Linked DNA regions of Homo sapiens: regions 1, 2 and 3 are each linked to region 4. Evidence: promoter capture Hi-C in 16 types of primary human blood cells and fetal thymus (Javierre and others, 2016). All regions are on one chromosome and are shown on one strand. The core of a region is centred on a gene start or on the middle of the fragment in contact, and the rest is flanking DNA. Distances in the headings are between cores, read along the strand shown. Region 1 holds the start of CD300LB (CD300 molecule like family member b). Region 2 has its middle 27 kb from the start of CD300A. Region 3 overlaps CD300A (CD300a molecule). Region 4 holds the start of RPL38 (ribosomal protein L38).

What was found. Contacts are between HindIII fragments. The CHiCAGO score rates a contact against its expected background, and 5 or more counts as called.
Region 1: a contact is called between the fragment with the promoter of CD300LB here and the fragment with the promoter of RPL38 in region 4, in 4 of 17 cell types (naive B cells, megakaryocytes, total B cells and 1 more). The highest score is 8.4, in naive B cells.
Region 2: a fragment that was not itself captured here is called in contact with the fragment with the promoter of RPL38 in region 4 in 3 of 17 cell types (total CD4 T cells, total CD8 T cells and naive CD4 T cells); the score reaches 7.9 in total CD4 T cells.
Region 3: a contact is called between a fragment that was not itself captured here and the fragment with the promoter of RPL38 in region 4, in 1 of 17 cell types (total CD4 T cells). The highest score is 5.5, in total CD4 T cells.

What each region holds. Positions count from the first base shown.
Region 1 is chr17:74,530,091-74,532,790 of GRCh38, forward strand. It overlaps CD300LB (CD300 molecule like family member b), which reads right to left and starts at 1,385. Exons shown (of 4, transcript NM_174892.4): 1 at 1,221-1,385. The coding sequence starts at 1,260. LOC107985074 (a long non-coding RNA gene) reads left to right here. Exons shown (of 3, transcript XR_007065902.1): 2 at 2,457-2,551. The HindIII fragment of the contact is 3,995 bases long and covers 1-2,021 here.
Region 2 is chr17:74,492,279-74,494,978 of GRCh38, forward strand. No RefSeq gene overlaps it. Among named protein-coding and RNA genes, the nearest start is that of CD300A, 27 kb to the left of the region's middle. The HindIII fragment of the contact is 6,311 bases long and covers 1-2,700 here.
Region 3 is chr17:74,475,893-74,478,592 of GRCh38, forward strand. It overlaps CD300A (CD300a molecule), which reads left to right. Exons shown (of 7, transcript NM_007261.4): 4 at 1,544-1,638. Among named protein-coding and RNA genes, the nearest start is that of CD300A, 11 kb to the left of the region's middle. The HindIII fragment of the contact is 2,554 bases long and covers 174-2,700 here.
Region 4 is chr17:74,202,333-74,205,032 of GRCh38, forward strand. It overlaps RPL38 (ribosomal protein L38), which reads left to right and starts at 1,346. Exons shown (of 5, transcript NM_000999.4): 1 at 1,346-1,413; 2 at 1,586-1,626; 3 at 1,798-1,858. The coding sequence starts at 1,624. RefSeq lists enhancers at 582-1,085, 2,094-2,598, 2,599-2,700. The HindIII fragment of the contact is 15,941 bases long and covers 1-2,700 here.

The DNA of each region.
Region 1 (2,700 bases), core at 135-2,634, 330 kb after region 4:
GAGCCCCGTTGAACGGGCTGAAGGGTGGAAGTCCAGCCAGGACTGGAGTCGGGTCTCAGAACTCCCCAGCCATGCTCTTTCCTGTTGTCCCTCCGTGGACTGCTCTATCTGTGCCAGATGGTCAGTCCCTAGGCACCAGCAGAAAACTGTGTGGCCCACACACATTGCACACCCTGCGTAAAATTCTAGATTGTCCCCTAATGCCCTCTAGGTGTCCACCAAGGTTTGCCATGGAGAAGATCATCTAGCCCTTCCCACTTTCCACCTGGGTTCTTGAGAAGTTTTTTCTTTGAAAGTCTCAGCTCCTGAGCCTGGCGTGGATGGCCTTCATAATCTTGTCTTTTGTGTTTCCAACCTCATATCCAACTCGCCACCTCCAAGACATCCTGCACACTGACAGCTCCCTCTGCATGAATCCACCATTCTTTCTAAGCCTCCATCTCTCTGCCCAGGTCCCCCAACACACACACACACACACACACACACACACACACACACACACCCAACTCTCTAGAGTGTTCTCCTCTCAGCTCTGCTCCAGAGACTGACCTTCCTTCTACAAGGCACATCAAGTGCACAGCTTCGTGAGTCTTTCTCTAGTCACCAGAGAGAACTGCTTCATCCTCCGCACACGCCTCCACCAATGCCTTATTGTGTCCTGCAATTGCTCATTGTTTATGTGTATGTCTCACCCACTAAGCCATCTGGAGTCTTTTTACTTTATTTTTTTTTTGAGACAAGGTCCCACTGTATCACCCAGGCTGGAGTGCTGTGGTGCGATCATAACTCTGCAGAATTGAATACCTGAGCTCAAAGGATCCTCCAGCTTCAGCCTCCCAAGTAGCTGGGACTACAGGCACGGTCACCACGCCCAGCTAATTTTTGTTCATTTTATATAGAGACGAGGTCTCACCATGTTGCCCAAACTGGTCTTAAACGCCTGGACTCAAGCAATCCTCCCACCTTGGCCTCCCAAAGTGTTAGGATTATAGGTGTGAGCCATGGCCTCAAGCCTGGAGTCTTCTTTAATGGCCAGTTCTCCTCCTCTTTTTTCTTGATGTCCTCAGGCCCCGAAGCACACGATGTCAGTCCCCAGTGCACCTTTGTCGAATGACTTCACAAAGCCACCTCTCATTTCCCTGGATGTGGAAGGACAAATGCCCTCTGCCTCCTGCCCTGCCCCTGTCATACCAAGCGCCCAAGGCCCCAGCCCCACTCACCTGAGAGGCTGAGAAGGAGCAGAGCAGGGGGCAGCCACATGGCTCTGCCTTCCCGGCTCCTCGTCCGCCTGATCTGCAACCAGTGGCAAATGCAGATCCCAGATGCACTCTGGAAGTTCTGCCTGAGCTCTGGCTTGCACCTTCTGCACATCTAGACCGCCTTTGACTTTCTTACTCATTCACTTCCTTTTATAGAGTGGGTAGTTCCTGCTTTTAATTATTAAACGAAAGAGGTGTCATTTTTTGGCAGGGCTGCGCCACAGGGCTTAAGCATCGTCACTATGTAAAAAAGAGGAGGGAGGGGACTGTGCAGGGTCTTTAGGGTAGGGGGAGATACGTCTGCAGAAGGGGTGGGGTGGGGGGCGTCTGGCCTAGCAGGCCTTGGGTCCAAGGGGTATAACACTCTGGGAGTCAATTTCAGAGCTGTTCTATACCACAGTGAACACCCAACTCAGATGTCGGATGGGTCATGCTGGGCACACCTGAACATGCATTTGTTCAGGTGTTATAGCCAAGTGCATAAACATGCAGACTGTTGGGTCAGACAGACCTGGCTCTAACCCCACGAGCACCACCTACAAGCTGCGTGACTGTGGACAATGCAATCAACATCTCTGTGCCTCAGTTATTGTATCTATTAACTGGGCTCATAATGTTTGTTGTTGTTATAGGAGTTATTAAGAAATTATTTTAGGTAGATAGGAAAAGGGGTGCTTGGGAAGATTTTTTTTTCTTTTAAAGCAGCTCCATAAATGTTTCTTGTCTAGAAGAAAAGCCCTGGCTCTTAGAGCTGGGCAGGCAAGCTTTGATATGCAAATACAGGCCATTAGAAACTGCGTCCACCCAAACATGGAGACTCCCGCCTCTTCTTCTTTTCCCCACGTTCCTGGCAACATGGCCGCCCCTACATACACCCATGTGTGTAGAACATCATGGCGCCTGTATTTGCATATTAAAAGGCTAGGGTAGGAAGGCTAGTTTTTTCGTGGGCTACTTGAATGACATACCTGGTCAAACCAATCCCCTGGGCCCTATGCAAATCAGGTACCGCCTCCTCCAGCCTCCTCATATAACTGGCTGTTTTCCACCGTACTCGAGGTTCCCTCTTTCAGCTTGGAGCCCGCCTCCCTCAGTCTCAGAACAGGGGGAGCCTCTTCCTTCCTTCTTTCTTGTCTATTAAATTCTCCACTCCTTAAAACCACTCCACGTGTGCCCATGTTGTTTTATTCAAACCAGTGGGAGACCAAGGACCCTAGTGTTCCTCCAGTCATCAGAGCCATACCATTTTGTTGCATTGGCCGGGAATCCAAGGTACGACACTCATCGGAGTGGTAAGTATGGGAGTGAGCTTAAAATCTCTTCTATCATTCCGAGGCACTCTTAGCCTCTATTTTAAAATAAAATAAGTCAATGGGCATCCGTCAGCCGGGTACATACACTTAGTGTTGGCTGCCATACTGAAGACTCGAATGTGAGGCTT
Region 2 (2,700 bases), core at 169-2,668, 290 kb after region 4:
GCTTTATAGAACAGCTTAACAATTACTGAGAAGAAAGAAAGAAGGAAAGAAAGACAGAGAGGAAGAAAGGAAGGTAATTCACATGCAGAGAGAACATTCCACTTTATTCTTTTTGTTTTTTTCAGGGAATGGGTGAGCTGAGGGGTTTATTCACACAACAGAATGCTTTGCAGCAGTGACAACAGATTGCCTTTTTTTATTTTATTTCATTTTATTTTATTTGAGACAGGGTCTTGCTCTGTCACCCAGGCTGGAGTCCAGTGGTGCAATCTTGGCTCACTACAATCTCTGCTTCCCAGGTTCAAGTGATTCTTCTGCCTCAGCCTCTCCAGTAACTGGGATTACAGGTACATGCCACCATGCCCGGCTAATTTTTTTGTACTTTTAGTAGAGACAGGGTTTCGCCATGTTGGCCAGGCTGGTCTCGAACTTCTGGCCTCAAGTGATCCTCTTGCCTCGATCTCCCAAAGTGCTGGGATTATAGGCATGAGCCACCATGCCTGGCCACCTTCTTTATTTTACAGAAGAGCCACGGGCCAGAGAGGCTACTTGAAATGACAAATGCCACTCCATTGGGTGATAATATCTGAACCTTGAATCTAGGAATTCTGGATCTTAGCATTAAAAACAACAACAATGAAAAAAAAAACCTTGTATTTTGAAACAATTTCAAACTTAAGGAAAAATTGTGGAAAAGGTACAAAGACCTCCCGTATGTCATTTTCCCAGATTTACCCTTTTTTTTTTTTAATTTGCCACTTTTTTGTTACTCTGTTTCTATCTATGCGTTTTTCCCCAGAACCATCTGAGAACAGGTTGCTGACACTGTCTTTGTCTGCATGTGCCGGGTACACAAAGGTGCCACTCCGGTGTTTTCTGAAAGTAGCTGGTGAAGCCTTCCCGTAGTTGTGCCTTGTCTTTGTTTTACAATCCAAGTTCACCTTCAAAATACAGCGCCTCACTTGGCATGTCCAATGCCAACATGATAGATATTCGGAGGATTAAATAATGTTAGGTTAATCATCAATATGTTCACAATTGGTCCAAGGAGGTGAAAGACATTTTCTAATTAGCCCAAGCCTTTTAGAAAGATGACTCAGGGCTGAATTATCCACAGTTTAGAAAATGACCTCACAATTATGTTTCTTTGTTTTTAAAGTTTACTGTTTGGGCAAACACCAGCCCTGGTTTGTAGACCTGACTCTGCCTGGGAACCAAACATAGAGATTTGATAGCCACGTATCTCCACCCTGTGGCCATGCGGGGAATCACACATGCCTGGATTCCCAAGCCTGTTGAATTCGTTGGGGTTGGTCTGTCAACGCCAAAGGAATTCTGTACTTTCTGGGTCAATGCAGCTGAGAAGCGGGAGGGCTTGAAACAGGGGAACAGACAGAAAACTCCTGCATGGCTTTCCAGCCCCTCTGCACGCCCAGTCCTTGGATGTTTTGTGCCGAAAGAAAACTCAACTCCTTGGCCGGGCACGGTGGCTCACGTCTGTTATCCCAGCATTTTGGGAGGCCAAGGCAGGCGGATCACTTGAGGTCAGGAGTTCAAGAGCAGCCTGGCCAACATGGCGAAACCCCGTCTCTACTAAAAATACAAAAATTAGCCGGGTGTGGTGGCGGACACCTGTAATCCCAGCTACTTGGGAGGCTGAGGCAGGAGAATCGCTTGAACCTGGGAGGCGGAGGTTGCAGTGAGCCAAGATCGCGCCATTGCACCCCAGCCTAGGTGACAGAGCAAGACTCTGTCTCAAAAAACAAACAAACAAACAAAACAAGAAAACTCAACTCCTCTCTAACTTTGAGTTTCTTTATTTCATATCCAATTGTCCCTTCCCAATTCCTAGATTTTCCCACCCCGACTGCAGTGTGTCAAAGGCAAGGGCAGCCACCCCACCTGTGGTTGGTGTCATGGGTTTGGGGTCAGATAGAACAGGCCTTAAATCCCACCTCTGCCCTTGTGACCTACATGGTCTGGGGCTGCCATTCAAGGCCATCTGGGTCTCAGTTTCTTCATTTGTTCCAGCAATGGTCCAGTGCCCCTCCAGTGCGTTCACCCTCACCAGGCTCTGAAGCAAGCTCTTATTTATTTATTTCTATTTTGAGAGGGAGTCTCAGTCACTGAGGTTGGAGTGCAGTGGTGCGATCTAGGCTCACTGCAACCTCTGCCTCCCGGGTTCAAATGATTCTCCTGCCTCAGCCTCCCAAGTAGCTGGGATTACAGGCACCTGCCACCACACCTGGCTAATTTTTGTATTTTAGTAAAGATGGGGTTTCGCCATGTTGCCCAGGCTGGTCTCAATCCCCTGACCTCAGGTGATTCACTCACCTGGGCCTCCCAAAGTGCTGGGATTACAGATGTAAGCCACCGCACCTGGCCACTCTTATTTATTTATACAGACAGGGTCTCACCATGTGGTCCCAGTTGGGCTTAACCTCCTGGTCTCAAGCAAATCTCCCTCCTCAGCCTCCTGACTGGCTGGGACCGCAGTGTGACCCACTACACCCAGCTGATGCAAGCCCTTAACAAAAGGCCCTGCCATTCTCTCCCTGGGCATCCTCATGCTGTTTCGTCACCTCTGGGACTCTTTCTAAGCACCCCTGACCTGCATCCTCATTGTCCAAAATTTCTTTGCTGTCGATTCTTTCCTTTGCTCCTGTTCTCGGGTCCTTTGAATTTGACCTTTGGACTCTC
Region 3 (2,700 bases), core at 201-2,700, 270 kb after region 4:
TTATCATAAGGATAAAGGATAAAGATTAGGACCAGCCAATGCAGAGACACATAGGACAAGGCTTGGGAGGATTCCCAAACAGTTTCTGTGCCCTCTCCAGGTGGAATCAGGGAGCATCACCTGCACCCTCCCTGCGGCACCTCAATATATTTATCAACCAGGAAGCTCCTCCAAGCTTTGGTGTCCAGAGTTTTTATTGGGGTTTCATTACATAGGCATGATGTGATTGAACTGTCTCCACCTCCAGTCCCTCTTTGGGAGGTTGGGCTGGCTCAGGGCTCCAAATCTCTAATTACGTAGTTGGTCTTTCTGGTGACCAGCCCCATCCTATTGTCTCATCTCTTACCAAAGTCCAGGTGTGATTCATGAACAACAAAGACACTCCTAATTTTTGGGACATTCCAAGGATTTAGAGCCTCCCTCCTAAGAGCTAGGGACAAAGGCCAGCCAGATTCTTTACTGGACAACATCCATAAACCCCTCCACAGGCTTCTGCCAACATATAAGACAAGGCAAAATTCAGGCTTGAACATGCCACTTCCAGAAGTTTAGCCTGTAGATACACATAGGTGGCAGCGCTGAGTTCTGTGGGGCCTGAAGGTTGTGCAGTTTGCGGGGTGGGTTGGTGGGTGGGTAATCTAAGAAAAAGATGAGAAAATTATGAATGCAAACGTAGGCATGAAGGAAAGGGCCCAAGCAATGGAGGGACCTGAAGCTGGGCTGCATCAGCCTCCTGGTCAATCTGCTGCTGCGTGGTCAGGTGTGAAAAGGTGGAGCTGCAAGGCGATTTATAAGCAACGTTTACCATTGCAAAGGACTGGGGAAATGCCCATTCAGTGGGAACATTTAAATAAATCACAGTCTATCCATGTGTTGGAATACCCTGCAGCTATAGGAAAGAGTGAGGGACTTCTTTATGTACTGACGTGGAAAGACCTCTAAGATGTATTGCTAAGTAAAACCAGAATAGTGTTAGACGAGGCCTCCTTTGTGTGAAAGAGAAAGGAGATCCCGTACATTCGTATTTGCTTGTATACACATAAAGAAACTCTGGAAGGTTCTTAAGAACAGCACGTGTGTGTATGTGGGGAAATTGGGGAATGTGTAAATGGGGGGTGTGTAGAAAGGGGGCTTTATACTGTCTATTTTTTTTAATTGACCTTATCTATCTACTTAAAAAGTTAGAGAAGGAGACCAGGTATATTGGCTCATGCCTGTCATCCCAGCATTTTGGGAGGCTGAGGCAGGAGGGTGGCTTGAGCTCAGGAGTCTGAGACCATCCTGGGCAATATAGCAAGATTGAGTCTCTACGAAAAATTTAAAAATTAGCCGTGGTGGCCTGTGCCTGTAGCTGGAGGCTGAGGCAGGAGGATCACTTGAGCCCAGGGGTTCAAGGCTGCAGTGAGCCATGATCACCACTGCACTCCAGCCTGGGTAACAGAGCCAGATCCTGTCTCAAAAAATAAAAATAAAAAATAAAAATAAAAAAGTAAGTTGGAGAAGGCAAGTTGGCCCCGCCCTTACCATCCTGTGCCTCCTCCAGGCTCCCGCTGCTCCTCTCCCTGCTGGCATTGTTGCTGCTTCTGTTGGTGGGGGCCTCCCTGCTAGCCTGGAGGATGTTTCAGAAATGGATCAAAGGTGAGTTGGCTCCCCACACCCCTCTGCCCCACCTGGGGTGGTCAGACCCTGACCACAGACGCTCATCTTCAAAGCTATGTCCACGTCCCACAGTATTGCTATGACATGTGACACCCAGACCACACATCCTAGGTGATCCTACAGGGCAGGTCCCATGGGAGGCATCCTTGTGCGTGGTGGTTACAGGCTGTGAGAGGTGGCTCCCAAGCAGGAGGCTTTCCCACTTCCAGGCCAAGGGTGGTTGCCCCATGAAGCAATGACCCTCTTCTGTTTAAAACCCTGGCATGGTGTGCTGGGTGCAGTGGTGTGCATCTGTAGTTCCAGCTACTCAGGAGGCTGAGATGGGAGGATTGCTTGATCCCAGGAATTCAAGACCAGCCTGCGCAACACAACAAGGCTCCCGTGTCTATAAGATAAAATAAACCCTTGCATGGTCTCCCCCACCATAAAAAGTCCAGGTATCTACAGGAGTCACTGCCCTCCACGATCTGGCTCTACCCACCTCCCTCTCCCCATCCGCGCACCCTGGAAACCAACTTCTTGTATCTCCTTTAATGACAGCCTCAACCTCAGCCTCTCCTCTCCTTCTGGGTTTGCTCTGGGCTGGAGGGCCTCCCCTGCCCCCTCTCCCCAGCTCACTCCCAGTGGACTCCAACAGTGGTCCTCAGACTTTCTTTTCTCTGGGACCTTTTCTTTGACTCCAAAGAGTGGCTTGGGGCCCCTCCTGGCTATACCTCTGCTGTCACAGCCTTTTGGGAACCAGACTGTCATTGCTGGTGTCCTCATCTGCCTTCCCACAGGCATGTGCTTCAAGGAGGTACAGAACCAATATTTGTCAAATTAATGTGTTATTCAGTATCTCCAGCTGCAACGGGCACCCCAGGGGCCTCCAGGCAATCTCTAGTCCAGCTGCCCTCCTCTGAGCTCAGATTAAAAGAGAGAACAGGAACTCTTGGCACTCAGTAAGTAGATGCTCAATAAATAGCTGATAGGCAAATTGAATAAGCACAGGAACAGAGGAACAAGTGGAGGTGTGGCCACCAGTCCTCTAGATTGCAGATC
Region 4 (2,700 bases), core at 96-2,595:
GCTTCTTTAAAAGACTCTTCAGTGTTATTACAATATTTTTGTGATCTCTCTGCAGCAAGGTCTATTGGTTCCTGTATCTCCAGCACCCCCAGGAAGGTGCTCAGCCTGAGCTTGTTAATGGAAGGGCAGGAGGGAGGAAGAAAGGAAGGTTAAGTTAAATAAGTTCTAAGTAAAGCTCATGGCAAAGTGTTCTTTCCCTTCAGGAGGGCCGCTCTGTAATAATAAGCACGAAGCAATTACATTCTGCCGTGTGGTTATTAAATTTTGGGGAAACAAATATAATAAAATGTAGACATTTGTAGGGAGGTTGGAGATAAAATAAAAATGGAGGATAAAAATAAAATCGATAACCGCAGGTTGCTCAGAGTCTAACCTAAAGGATGTTAGGGGGAGAAAGGAACGCTGCCCTCCCCAGGCTTCCCAAGCCTCCCCAGGAAGTGGCCGGAGCCTGGGCTGGGGAATCTGCCCAGCAGGGGTTCAACTCCTGAGTCCACCTCTCCCCTCTGGGGCCGCGGTGAGACCCCGCAAGAGCAGGAGCACTCCCACTCACCATCAGCCCTAGGGGTGAGACACTTAGCCAGGGGCAGCGCTGCGACAGCTTTTGGAAGTATTATTATTATTATCATTATTGCTAGAGATGGGGGGGGGGAGGTCTTACTAGGTTGCCCAGGCTGCTCTCGAACTCCTGGCCTCAAGCGATCCGCCTGCCTCGGCCTCCCCCAGTGCTGGGGTTATAAGCGTGAGCCACCGCGCCCGGCCTTAACTTGCTTTCATTGTACACCAATTCCTAAGGGAATTGGAAGCAGCAAGCAGGAACGCTCCCTCTTATGGAAAGAAGAGCCCAGGGCCCTGGTCATGACAGGTTCAGGTGCCAAAAAGGAGACGGGAAGAAAACGTGAGGCGCCAGAACAACAGGTTCTACAAGGTGCACACGAGGGTCCCTGCCATTGAATGAAGAATTTTCTGTGTGGATGCCCCTGCGCAGGTCCAATGAAAGCCGTGGAGAATAAGCGTTAGCTCTTCAAACTGAATCTGAGCTAAAACCTAGCAAAGCCAGGCTGGGGTCTGAGGGGTTGCGGGGGAAGACAGGAAGGGGTGGACGGGGAAGAGGCGGGGGTCCTAGGAGGAAGGGATGGGGAGGAGCGAGAGGAGGGAGGCGGAGGGAGGGCGGCAGCCAGGATGGTCCATTCCATTCTTGGAGCTGCACTGTTGACTTCGACCACAAGGGGGCAGGGCTGCTGAAATTGGAAGTGCGAACGCCTACATGAGTCTTGATCCTCGGCAGGCACCGTACCCAGTTTCCTCCGTTGGGAGGGTTTAACTGCCCGGAAACGGAAGTCTCGTTCTTTTTCGTCCTTTTCCCCGGTTGCTGCTTGCTGTGAGTGTCTCTAGGGTGATACGTGGGTGAGAAAGGTAATCTGGGGCAATCCACTGCCAGGTGAAATCTGGGGACCCCAGGTCCGCGTGGAGGGTGTCGGGGAGGAGAAGGGGAGTGCGATGGGGCCGATATTTCGGGGGAGAGCGGGAAAACGGGGTTCGCTGCCAGCCCCCGCGCCGTGTTAACGCCGAGGACTGTTTCCCGCAGGTCCTGGTCCGCGCCAGAGCCCAGCGCGCCTCGTCGCCATGGTGAGTACAGTCCCTGCCTGGCGCCTTCCCGGGGTGGGCTCGTGGGGCCCCGGGGCGAGGGCGAGAGAGCCTCCCAAGGATCTCCTGAGGCCGGGAGAAGCTGGTGGACTGGGCCATCGCCGGGAGACGTGTCTCTTTCCTCTCTGTTCACCCGCTTCCTTTGTGTTGCAGCCTCGGAAAATTGAGGAAATCAAGGACTTCCTGCTCACAGCCCGACGAAAGGATGCCAAATGTAAGTGGTTGCTCCGAAGGTTCAAGAAGAGCGGTGCCTAGCCTGGCACCGCTCCGGGAGCGTCTTCCCCGGAATGTCAGGCAGGAGACGGTTAGGCCGTCTGGGTGTGTGCCTGGCCCTCTGGGAGCAGTGGTTTCATCCTGTTTCCCATGAGAAAGACCTGTGGGGGGCACGTTGAGGCCCTGGAATTTCTAGGACCATCTTTAGCTAATCGCGATCATCTCAGAGGCCGCCCTGAGTTCAGTTTTCTTTCGTATAATATAGTAAATTGTCGGAACGGAATCTCCACTCCGCGAAAGCCTCAAAACACACGTCCCATAAACACTGTTTAGGTTCTCTGCAGTTGTGCAAAATCTTAACACAAAATCCATTTTGTAATAAAGTGCTGGATATTTGCATGTAATGTATCGAGCACGGCACACTGTGTAGTATGGTCGTTTACCTCGTGATCCTGTGGTCGCTGGCCAGTGTCAGAAGGTATCATACCTATCTAATCCAGAAAAATATTTAAAAAAATTTTTTTTTTTCTTTGAGACAGTCTGGCTCTGTCGCCCAGGCTGGATTGCAGTGGTGCGATCTTGGCTCACTGCAATTACCGCCTCCCAGGTTCAAGCGATCCCCCTGCCTCAAAGTAGCTGGGCGCGCCACCATGCCTAGCTGATTTTTGTGTTTTTGGTAGAGACAGAGTTTCACCATGTTGGCCAGGCTGGTCTCGAACTCCTAACCTCAGATGATCCACCTGCCTCCGCCTCCCAGAGTGCTGGGATTACAGGTGTGAGCCACTGTGCCCCGCCAAGATCAAAATTTGAAGCAGGGCTTCTACTGAATGTATATCGCATTAC